Regions from separate parts of the Homo sapiens genome. Here region 2 is linked to region 1. The links are contacts of gene promoters, found by promoter capture Hi-C in human tissues and cell types (Jung and others, 2019). All regions are on one chromosome and are shown on one strand. Each heading gives the region's core, a stretch centred on a gene start or on the middle of the fragment in contact. The rest is flanking DNA. Distances are from core to core; before and after follow the strand shown. Region 1 holds the start of MMP9 (matrix metallopeptidase 9). Region 2 overlaps CDH22 (cadherin 22).

Region 1 (5,374 bases), core at 1,101-3,600:
CAGGGCAAGCCGTCGGAGCGACCGTCGGTGGTGCAGGCAGAGTAGGAGCGGCCCTCGAAGATGAAGGGGAAGTGGCAGGCCGCGCCATCTGCGTTTCCAAACCGAGTTGGAACCACTGCAGGAGGAGGGGGGACCGGAGTTAGGGCGGCGGGTGATGAGTGGGAGAGAATGAAGGGAATCAGGGGCCAGGAGGACTCAGAATCTCACCGACGCCCTTGCCCAGGGACCACAACTCGTCATCGTCGAAATGGGCGTCTCCCTGAATGCCGGGGCCAGGAGGAAAGGCGTGTGCCAGGAGCCCGTCCTTCCCGTCGAAGGGATACCCGTCTCCGTGCTCTGAAGAAACAGGTCGAGAGGAAGAGGGTTAGCCGAGTACTGCTGCGCAGATTGTGCGCTGCCCAAGGCAAGGGCTCCGAAATAAGTGCGGGCTGAAATCCCGCCTGCGCGAAGCTCTCCCAGCCTGGCGCCCTGGCCCTGTGCACTGTCTGGCAGGAGGGGCCGTATAAGCCAGGGCAGCGCGGGCAGGCAAGAGGAAGCCGGGGCCACTGCTGCCTCCACGCTCTCCGTGGTCCTCCCTTCCCTGACCCCGCCCAGGTCTCTTGGATTTTCCCTCCTCACGTTCTCACCCGCGACACCAAACTGGATGACGATGTCTGCGTCCCGGCTGTACACGCGAGTGAAGGTGAGCGGCGTCACCGCGCTCCACAGTGCGAAGGCGCGGGCAAAGGCGTCGTCAATCACCGCCCGCGGCAAGTCTTCCGAGTAGTTTTGGATCCTGTAGCGTAAGAGCCAGAGGAAGGAGGTCAGAAGTGAAAGGCTGGAGCGGGGCAGCAGGGACACCCCATATCGCAGAGACTTCAACATACACAATGCTCTCTGCCGTCCACGCTCTCATCTATAAATTGCTTCCAGACTGTTTTTTTTTTTTTTTTTTTTGTCTACTTAGACCCTCACAATGGCCCTGGCAGGAGGACTTGGATTGCAAGAGCCATTTCCCTGAAGGAGAAACAGAGGCTCAGAGGTGGGGACACTCCCCAGGGGCCACACATTAAATAGTGAAACCCAGGGACGCGTCCAAGACAGGACATGTTCACCGCTGGCCCAAGAGCCAGACCTGGCCTCCCCGCCCCACCCCGCTGCCCCCACGGCCCCGGCTCACCAATAGGTGATGTTGTGGTGGTGCCACTTGAGGTCGCCCTCAAAGGTTTGGAATCTGCCCAGGTCTGGGACCCCGCACCGTGGGGTTCGCATGGCCTTCAGCGTGGCGCTATCCAGCTCACCGGTCTCGGGCAGGGACAGTTGCTTCTGGAGAAGCAGCAGCGCAGGCCCCAGAGATTTCGACTCTCCACGCATCTCTGCCACCCGAGTGTAACCATAGCGGTACAGGTATTCCTGTGGATGAAGGGACACACACATGCCAGATCTCTGACCCCTTTCTCTGCCCAGCTGGGGCCAAAGGACTCCCTCCAGACACTCATGGAGGGAGTCTTTTTTCTTTTTCTTTTTCGGAGAGACGGTATCAGCCCACTGCAGCCTGGACCTCCTGGACTCAAGCGATCCTCCCATCTCAGCCTTCTGCATAGCTGGAACTACAGGTGCACATCACTGTGCCTGGCTATTTCTTTAATTTTTTTGTAGAGACAGGATCTTACTATGTTGCCTAGGCTGGGCTCAAACTCCTGAGCTTCAGCGATCCTACCACCTCAGCCTCCCAAAGTGCTGGGATTACAAGTGTGAGCCGTCATGCCCAGCAGGGACTAACATTTAATAAAGCATTAAATGCTTTCCAGACACCAGTGCTTTCTGACCACCCAGGGATCTCCCCTCCTTAGACATCCTCAGCTCCTTCTCACCCCTGGATGCCTCTAGCCCATTTCTACCCCACAGCTGCATAAGGTTTGCCCCTGTTCACTCCCAGCCTATGCTTACCCCAGAACCCTCCAATGCCTCCCCCACCCCAAACCATTTCCCATTTCCCACCTAGGAAAGCCCCATTGCCCATTTCTGGCCATCACTGCTCAAAGCCTCCACAAGACCCCCCACTGCCTAACCCTGGACACCTCTGTTCTTCAGATACGCCCATCACCACCAACACACCCCTAAAGCATCTCCTCTGAGGCCCTGCATCCTCTCTGGGACACTCAACACCCTCACGGACAGCCCTCCCCAACTCTAGACTAGGTGTTTGCCCACCTCTGCCAGCTGCCTGTCGGTGAGATTGGTTCTCAGGTCTCCAGGGAAGAGCACAAGGGTGGACTGGCGCTGTCTGGGGGCAGCAAAGCAGCAGCCCAGCACCAGGAGCACCAGGACCAGGGGCTGCCAGAGGCTCATGGTGAGGGCAGAGGTGTCTGACTGCAGCTGCTGTTGTGGGGGCTTTAAGGAGGCGCTCCTGTGACCCCACCCCTCCTTGACAGGCAAGTGCTGACTCAGGGGTCAGGGTGTGTGTGTGTGTGTGTGTGTGTGTGTGTGTGTGTGTGTGTGTGTGGCAGCACCAGCATGAGAAAGGGCTTACACCACCTCCTCCTCTCTCCACTGCCCGCAGTCTCCACTGCCAAGTCAGGCAAGACCCCAGACCCGCAGGAAACCGCAGGCCCTCAGGGGAGGGGTAGGGTTTTGCAAACTGCAGAGCTTGTGGGAACTGTATGAAAGGGAGGGAGGGGGATGAAGCTGGAGGGATCCCCCATCCCTTGGTCTGAAAGCCTCCAGTGGTCAGCCAAGGGAAAGTGATGGAAGACTCCCTGAGACTTCTTTCTGAAACTAATGATCCCCCTGGCCCATCCTTGGCCTTTTGCAACACCCCCTCCCAGGTCAGATATCCTCCCCAAACCCCTCCCCACACTCCAGGCTCTGTCCTCTTTTTCCCTCCCTGACAGCCTTCTTTGACTCAGCTTCCTCTCCCTGCTTCATCTGGGGGCGGAAGGAATGGGCTCTGCTAGGCAAGGCTGGGGAATTCCACTGGGGCAACCCCCTGTCTTCCGCAGGCTGAATCTTCAGGGCAGTAAAGGGGACAGTAGCAGCCTCTAGAAAACAGCAGACATGGCTTTACTCTCTTCCTTCAGGACCTCGGGCAAATGTCTTACCACTTTGAAGTGTTTCCTCAGCTGTAAAAAAAAAAACGGGGGGTGGGGGGCTCTTTGTCCCTAAATTGATGTGAGGATTAAATGAGATCAAACATATAAAATGTTTAGAACACTGTAGGTTGTAAGTCCGCAACGGATGGTGGTGATTGGTTTTAATTACTAAGGCCAAGACCCAAGATTCAGGGCCAGGTATGGTGGCTCATTCCTGTAATCTTAGCACTTTGGGAGGCCGAGGTGGGAGGATTGCTTGAGCCCAGAAAGAAGGTCAAGGATACAGTGAGCCATGATTATGTCACTGCACTCCAGCCTGGGCAACAGAGCGAGACCCTGCCAAAAGACCATGATTCTAACTTGGAATCACCAAACCAGGTTATTGGGCTCTAAGCTGCAGTGTAACCTGGAGTAAATGCCTTCCCCTTTGTCAGCTTAGGATTCTTCAACTGCAAATTGGGGCAGGATATGGGGGAAAATAATCTATAGGAGCCCTTTCAGTTCTCCAGCCCTGCTCCATGCAGCCAAATCTCCAGCCCCAATTATCACACTTATGCCAAGCCTCCCTCCCAAGCCTCCCACACCAGCAGCCTCCCTCACTCCTTTCTTCCTAGCCAGCCGGCATCGGGCAGGGTCTATATTCACCTTCTTCAAAGCCCTATTTGGGAAAAACCTGCTAACAACTCAAAAAGTTGTATTTATTTATTTTATTTTATTTTTGGGGGGTGTAGTATCACTCTGTCACCCAGGCTGGAGTGCAGTGGCGTGATCTCGGCTCACTGCAACATCTGCCTCCCGGGTTCAAGCAATTCTCCTGCCTCAGCCTCCCGAGTAGCTGGTATTATAGGCGTGCGCCACCACGCCTGGCTAAATTTTTTGTATTTTTAGTAGAGATGGGGTTTCACTACGTTGACCAGGCTGGTTTCGAACTTCTGACTCAAGTGATCTGCCCACCTGGCCTCCCAAAGTGCTAGGATTACGGGCATGAGCCATGGCGCCCGGCCCAATAAGCTGTATTTAAAGGGCCTACTATGTGCCAGGCATTTTATATGCTTATCTAATAAATGAGACTGTGAGATGGAGATAATTAACTTCCTTTACAGAAAAGTTGAAGTTCTAAAGTTCACTAACCAATGAACATCTGCTTTGCAGTCACGAAGTCCTGGATTTCCATCCCGGCTCTGCCATTTTCCAGCTATGTGACCTTGGGCAAGTCACTTTACCTCTGAACCATAATAATAATAATGCATTTTTTGAGATTTACTGTGTCAAGCACCGTAATAAGTTCTCTATAAGCCTCTCGTTTCATCCTCACCACCTGTAAGGTAAGTTTAATGAGTATCCCTCCTGTTTTCAGAGGGGGAAACTAAGGCTCAGAGAGTTAAGGAATTTGCCTGTGATCACAGAGCGAGTTAATCCACAGAACTAGTGTTCAAGCCCAGAACTGCCTGGCTCTGAAGCTTTTCATCTTTATTACCATTTACAGGGAACTGTGATGACCCAGGTATAGAAGTGGGTAGGTGGATGCGGTGACAGGGGCAGCACATAAAACCTGGATGCTTCTCCTCTGGTCCCCTGCTACCCACTGAAGGTAAGAGAGGAGGCCCAGGCATTTAGGGAATCAGAGGCTAGGACAGGGGACCCAGGAGGAACTAGATTCTAGACTCGGGAATGTGAGGTCATAGAGTAATATGAGTTTAGAGGAACAGATCTTCCAATCTGGAGGATCTTCATCTGGGTGGCAGACACGGGCTTTTAGGAAAATCCGTTAACTACCCCCCACTTGCCATCAATGGTACCAAACATGACATACAATACATATCTATGTATGTATGTCACATAGCTCAAACTTAGCACTATTGGCACTTGGGGCTGTCGTGTGCATTGTAGGATGTTTAGCAGCGTCCCTGACCCCTACCCACTGGATGCCAGTAGCACCTCCCCCTGCCAGTTGTGACAACCAGAAATGTTACCAAACATTGCCAAATGTACCCTGGGTGAGTGGGAGGGGCAGACTCACCCCCAGCTACTGGTATATGTTGATTTTTCTATGTAAAGGGTCTAAAACTTTTATCAGATACTCAAACCATTGTTGATGATCTTCAGACCTTTTAAAGACCATTTACTCAACACATTCTAGTTGAGTTTTTCTAGGCCAATCATTATGCTAAGAATTGGGAATACAAGTAGTGACCAAGATAGCCTTTGTCTCATTGTTCATGGATCTGAGAGTTCAGCATGGGGAGAAATTGAATGAATAATTAATTACCAGAGAATCAGGCATCAAGAAAGGAAAGTGGATT
Region 2 (6,170 bases), core at 1,492-3,991, 180 kb before region 1:
CAAAGCAAAGGTGCTATAATGGGGGTCTCATCTGCAGTGAGCATCCAGGAGCGGATCACTCACTCAGCAGTCCATCCTGCTGTACCTTCGACATGGCCCATAGGACCCTGTCTCTCCCTCCAGCCCACACACCCCCACCACCCTCCACTGCAGGGGAAAGGGCCCTGTAAGGGCACTCAGGCCCTGGCCGCCCCCTCTACTCTCCCTCTGCCTCTGCTGGGAAAGAGGCGCCTGTTCCTGGCTGTGGGCCTCACCCCCCTCTTCCCAAAAGCACCGACCGTCTGTCTGTTGAAATTCTCCGGCAACGCACTCTTAAAAATAACGGTTCACCCGGCATTCCCAGTCACGACTCCCATCTCTCGCCCTGGAAAAGCCCCCTCTAATCACTGGAGTGGCAGATCTGGTGAGCTTAGAAGATAATGTGCCCCTGGCTAAGGGGAACTCCAGAGAGAAGCTGGGGTCTGAATTAATTAAGAACTCAGCCCCCTCCTTTTCCTGACCGCCGCCCGCCCCCCCAGGAGGTGGCTGCACCTGCCTTCCTATCTCTGTTTCTCTCTTTATCAACACGTGAGCAGCTGCCGTCAGCACACAGTGGATCCTGAGTTTACAGCAGGAGGCAGCCGACCAGTCCCACTCCCCGTGAAACTCTTGGGGAGCCTGGATGCCTGGAAGCTTTCAGGCTGCCCCTCAGAGAGCTCCCTGCCAGCCCAGCCAGAGAGCCCCATCTTCTAAGTCACTGCTTGGAAGTGAGGTGTGGTTTCCTCCTCCAGGAGATGTTCCTGAGGTCACTGGCAGGTGGAACATGTCAGTAATGAACATGTAGCCAAGATAGCAGAGGATGGAGCACCAGTGAGCACTCAGAGGTCTGGGCTGGTGAGGGGTTAGAAAGCACCAACATTCAGGGCACTGCTTAGAGAGGACAGGCTGGGATGAAGTATTCCACATCCTAGAATTATTTAATGTTATTGCTAATAGGACCCTTCGAGAATGTCTGGTTATTTACAAATGCTTATATAGCACTTGCTACGTGTTGTACACACAGTTTCAAATGCCCTGCAGATATTAACTCAATCTGTCTCTTCACCGACCTATTAACCCATTTATGCCTGAGGTTGCAATTTTTTGAATTTTTGCAATCAGACCTTGGCGAAGTCCTTGAGCAGTAGGATATAAATAACTCTCACATGCTTAGCGTTCCAATAATGGAACGCTAGGCATAATTGGGTCAATATTAGACCGATTTTGCAGGTGAGAAAATTGAGGCACAGGGAGGTCAAATGACCTGGCTTGGATTATACAGACATAAAACAGCAGAGCTGGAATCAGAACTACCCAGCACTGCTCATAATCACTATGCTCTGTTCATTTTCCAGGTGTGGAAACTGACATCAGAGAAGGCAGGGTCTTACCCAAGACCAAACACTGGGTCAGGGACACAGCCACGCCTGGAATTCAAGCCTCCTGCAGTCTCAATTTTTCCAGGCTTCATTCATTCATTCAGCAAATATTAATATATTAGAATTTACATGTACCATATCCCACAATGCTGGTAGCCCAGAGATAAATAAGACAGGGACCATGATCTTAAAGACGTCCCAACTTGGAGAGGTGGGGACATCATGGTTTTGCTGGCGAAGATCTACCTCCTTGGACTTGTCTGGCCCTTTTAGGATCAGGTCTTGAGAAAGCAGAAGTCTTGGAGTTTAGTTGCCCCGACCCATGTCTAGAAAGCATCCCACGTTTTAGTTTCTCCTTTGCAATATGGGGATAGAAATTGTACCAAACCACAGGATTTCTGCAAGGATACTTAAAATAATGAATGTAGATGCTCCACGTGCATGCTGTGTGCTCTGTGGTGAGGGGGTGGGGATGGCAGTGGTGATGACAGTGTTGTTGGGGGCCAGGGATGTGATGGTAATATTGGTGATTATGATGGGGGTAATAGTAGTAATAGGTGGGCTGGTGATTGTGGTTGTGGTGACTATGGAAGAGATGGTGGTGGTATTGGTGATGGTGATATTGGTGATGGTGATGGGGTTGGTGGTGGTGGTGAGGGTAGTGATGGTGATGGCTTTAGTATTATTTATGGTAGAGATGATGGGTGTAGTACTAGAGGATGTGGTTCTGGTGGTGGTGGTGCTAATTCTAATGGTGATGGTAGTGATGGTGATGACCTGATGGTGATGGTGGTGATGGCAGTGGTGATGGTAACAGTATAAGGATGGTGATGGTGGTACTCATAGTTATGTTGATAGACGCACTGATGATAATGCAAATAGTGGTATTGGTAATGGCTTAATGATGACAGTGGTAATAGTAATAGTGGTAGTGATGGCAAAGGTGGCCATGGTGGAGATGGGATGGTGATGGTGGTGTTGATGCTGACAGTGGTGATGGTGTTGGTGATGGCAGTGGGTGCTACTGGTGATTGTGGTGGCAAGCGTTGTAGTGATAATGCCAATGGTGCCAAGGTTGATGGTAATGGTGGTGGTGATTACAGTGATGATTACTTAACTTATGCCCAAATGTTCCCAGTTCTGGTCCTTGTACCAGCTTGGTTAACCCACAAATTTCTCAGCATGACCCCACTGCCTACTATTGTCCTCATAGTAGAGAGGAGGCTATCTAGATCTCCCACTTGATGCCTCTCCCCTTGCTCCTGTGCTCTCATTACAGACAATCATGCACAGCTATCCCGGGCATCCCTAAGGATCCGAATCCTGGATGTGAACGACAATCCCCCAGAACTGGCCACACCCTACGAGGCAGCTGTATGCGAGGATGCCAAGCCAGGCCAGGTACCCCTGAGGGGGTGGGGACTGGGCGTTGCTTCCAGGACTGGCCAGCAGCATCCTCTACCTCGACCCAGAGTGGTCTCAGCCTCACCACTAGCCCTCTATCCCCTCCTCACCCTTCAGCTCATCCAGACCATCAGCGTGGTGGACAGAGACGAGCCCCAAGGCGGGCACCGCTTCTATTTCCGCCTGGTGCCTGAAGCTCCCAGCAACCCTCATTTCTCTCTGCTTGACATCCAAGGTGAGCCTCCAAACCCTAGGATGCAAGAAGGGAGGGGCACAGTCTCCCTGCCCTGTTCCCATATTATAGACAGAGGGACGGAGGCGCCCACAGGGCCTATGTTGGATCTAAGATCACATGGAAAGTCTGGGCCAAGCTGGAGCTGTTACCCAGCCCACTGGCCAAACACAAGCAGGGTGTGGGTTGGTGGAGTGGAGGAGGGCGTCCCAAGGATAAGAAATGGCAGATGGGAAGATATAGACAGGGAATAAATGAGGAATGATTGTGCCAGAGTCCAGGGTGGAAAGAGCCCCCGTTCTGAGTGGAGACTGAAGTAAGCCACGTGCACACACTCCCCACCCTGCAGGTTTCTGGCTTTTTATTTGATTTTTTTTTTTTTTTTTTTGAGACAGGGTCTCGCTCTGTCAGCCAGGCTGGAGTGCAGTGGCTCGTTGCAACCTCCACCTCCCAGACACAAGCAATCCTCCTACCTCAGCCTCCCAAGTAGCTCGGAGCATAGATGTGTGCCACCATGCCCAGCTACTTTTCGTATTTTTTGTAGAGACGGGATTTTTGCCGTATTGCCCAGACTAGTCTTGAACTCCCAGGCTCAAGCTATCGGCCTGCCTCGGCCTCCCAAAGTGCTGGGATTATAGGCATGAGCCACTGTGCCCAGCCCACCCTGCAGTTTAAAAACTGCTTTATTCCACTCACATTCCTTTTTTGGTTTTTGGAATTGTTCTTGAAACAAGGTCTTGCTCTGTCACCCAGGCAGCAGTGCAGTGGTGCAATCATAGCTCACTACAGCCTTGATCTCCTAGGCTCAAGCAGTCCTGCGTCAGCCTCCTGAGTAGCTGGCACTACAGATGCACACCATCAGATCTGGCTAATTGTTTTATTTTTTGTAGAAATGGGGTCTTGCTGTGTTGCCCAGGCTGGTATCGAGCTCCTGGGCTCAAACAATCCTCCTACCTCGGCCTCCCAAAGAGCTGAGATTATAGGCATGAGACACCACGCCAGGCCCACTCACATTTCTTTCTGCAACCTCACAGCCATCCTGTGAGGTAGTTTTCTGACTCCTCTCCCCATTTTACAGGTGATGAAACTGAGACTCTAAGAGAGAAAGAGTCCTGCCCAGGGTCATATAGGGAGTCAGTGGTGTGGGTAGGATTCAACCCAACCCCATCCCAAGTCCAGTGTGCTTCCTGCCTCAGCACACCACCTGGAAAGCAAACTGCCCTGCCCTGCCTGAGTCCACTGTGAGATTCCTCCCCTCTGGCTCTCACAAGTTTCTCATGATGTTGATGTTTGAACCTTTAAGGAATAGACTGAGGGAAGGGGGCAGTCACCAGACTGGAAATAAGGGACCAGGCTCAGCGAAGGGTGCTCTATACCACCCTGGCAAGCTCCTGTTCCTCTCTGGTTTTTTTGTGTTTGTTGTTGTTTGTGTGTGTGTGTGTGTGTGTGTGTGTGTGTGTATGCGTGTGGGGTTTTTTTGTTGTTTTTTGTTTGTTTGTTTGTTTGAGACAGCATCTCATTCTGTTGCCCAGGCTGGAGTGCAGTGGTGCGATCTCAGCTCACTGCAACCTCTGCCTCCCAGGGTCAAGAGATTCTCTTGCCTCAGCCTTCAGAGTAGCTGGGGTTACAGGCACGCACCACCACGCCAGGCTAATTTTTGTATTTTTAGTAGAGACGAGGTTTCGCCATGTTGGCCAGGCTGGTCTCGAACTCCTGACCTCAGGTGATCTGCCCGCCTCGGCCTACCAAAGTGCTGGGGCGCCTGTTCCTCTCTAAGCCTCAGTTTCATCATCTAAAATGGGAGTAACACCTACTGCCTCGGGTGGCTAGGTAGCCCCAGTAAGATAAGGGCCACCAAGATATAGTGTTAATACCTAGAAATGTCAATTCCTACATCCAGCAATTATTTAGTGAGTGTTTATTGAGACACAAAGCCTCTGTGTCGGGGTCTGCTCCGGGTCCTGGAAATGCAACAGCAAACACAACAAAACCTAGTTTATATTCTAGTGAGGTGAGACAGAAATGACACAAATAAAAAAGTATGTTGGGGATGATAAGTGGCTGGGGTGGAGGAATAATGCAATCTCCACAAGGGTCTGGACTTGACTTTGTTCAACCCTAGGTGCCTGGAGCAGTGCTTGGCATATCGTAGGTGTTTGATAAAATGTGTTCAATGAAACAGTGAAAAATAAAGCAGGGCACAGTGGCTCAGCCCTGTAATCTCAACACTTTGGGAGGCTGAAGTGGGCGGATTAGTTGAGGTCAGAAGTTCGAGACCAGCCTGGCCAACATGGTGAAACTCAGTCTCTACTAAAAATACAAAAATTAGTCCAGCAGGGTGGCGCATGCCTGTAATCCCAGCTACTCCAGAGGCTGAGGCAGGAGAATTGCTTGAACCCAGGAGGCGGAGGTTGCAGTGAGGTGAGATCTCACCATTGCCCTCCAGCCCGGGCAACAAGAGCGAAACTCCATCTAAAAAAAAAAAAAGAGAGAGAGAAAGCAGGGTAAGAGGAGAAGCTATCTTCTTAAATAGGGTGGCCTGGGAAGGACTCTCCAAGGGTATCCATAGTGAGAAGGGACCTAAAGGATATGAGAGAAAACGACCACCCCAGTGGAAGAAATAGCAAGTGCAAAGGCCCTGTGGTGAGCAGGACTGGGGTGGATTAGGAATGGAGGAGACCTGTGTGATTAGAGTGAGTAAGAGACAGGACTGGGAGGAGATGTGGTCAGCGAGGGGGCCAGATCATGTGGGTTCCTTCTGGCCTTGGAACAGGTCTGGGATCCTTCTCAAGGCCTTTACACACTCACACCCAATGCGGAGCCTTAGTGGCCTCTGAAGCCAGACCCATCTGTACCCCTGGGAGTCCTGTTAAAAATATGTAAGGCTCATGTTTATAACTCCAGCACAAGGCAGGAGGATCCCTTGAGGCAAGGAGTTTGAGAATAGCCTGGACAACACAGTGAAAACCCATCTCTTTAAAAATAATAATAATAATTAGCTGGGCATGGTGGCGCACACCTGTAGTCCCAGCTACTCAGGAAGCTGAGGCAGGAGAATCACTTGAGCCTAGGAGTTTGAGGCTCCATTGAGCCACGATCGCACCACTGCACTCCAGCCTGGAAGACAGAGTGAGACC

The links. Contacts are between HindIII fragments. The study calls those that stand out against the background at their distance.
Region 2: a contact is called between a fragment that was not itself captured here and the fragment with the promoter of MMP9 in region 1, in 1 of the 25 tissues and cell types used here (spleen).

The regions. Positions count from the first base shown.
Region 1 is chr20:46,005,884-46,011,257 of GRCh38, reverse strand. MMP9 (matrix metallopeptidase 9) reads right to left here and starts at 2,350. Exons shown (of 13, transcript NM_004994.3): 1 at 2,194-2,350; 2 at 1,160-1,392; 3 at 627-775; 4 at 208-336; 5 at 1-115. The coding sequence starts at 2,331. The HindIII fragment of the contact is 9,924 bases long and covers 1-5,374 here.
Region 2 is chr20:46,183,454-46,189,623 of GRCh38, reverse strand. It overlaps CDH22 (cadherin 22), which reads left to right. Exons shown (of 12, transcript NM_021248.3): 9 at 2,677-2,798; 10 at 2,919-3,036. Among named protein-coding and RNA genes, the nearest start is that of CD40, 68 kb to the right of the region's middle. The HindIII fragment of the contact is 5,122 bases long and covers 181-5,302 here.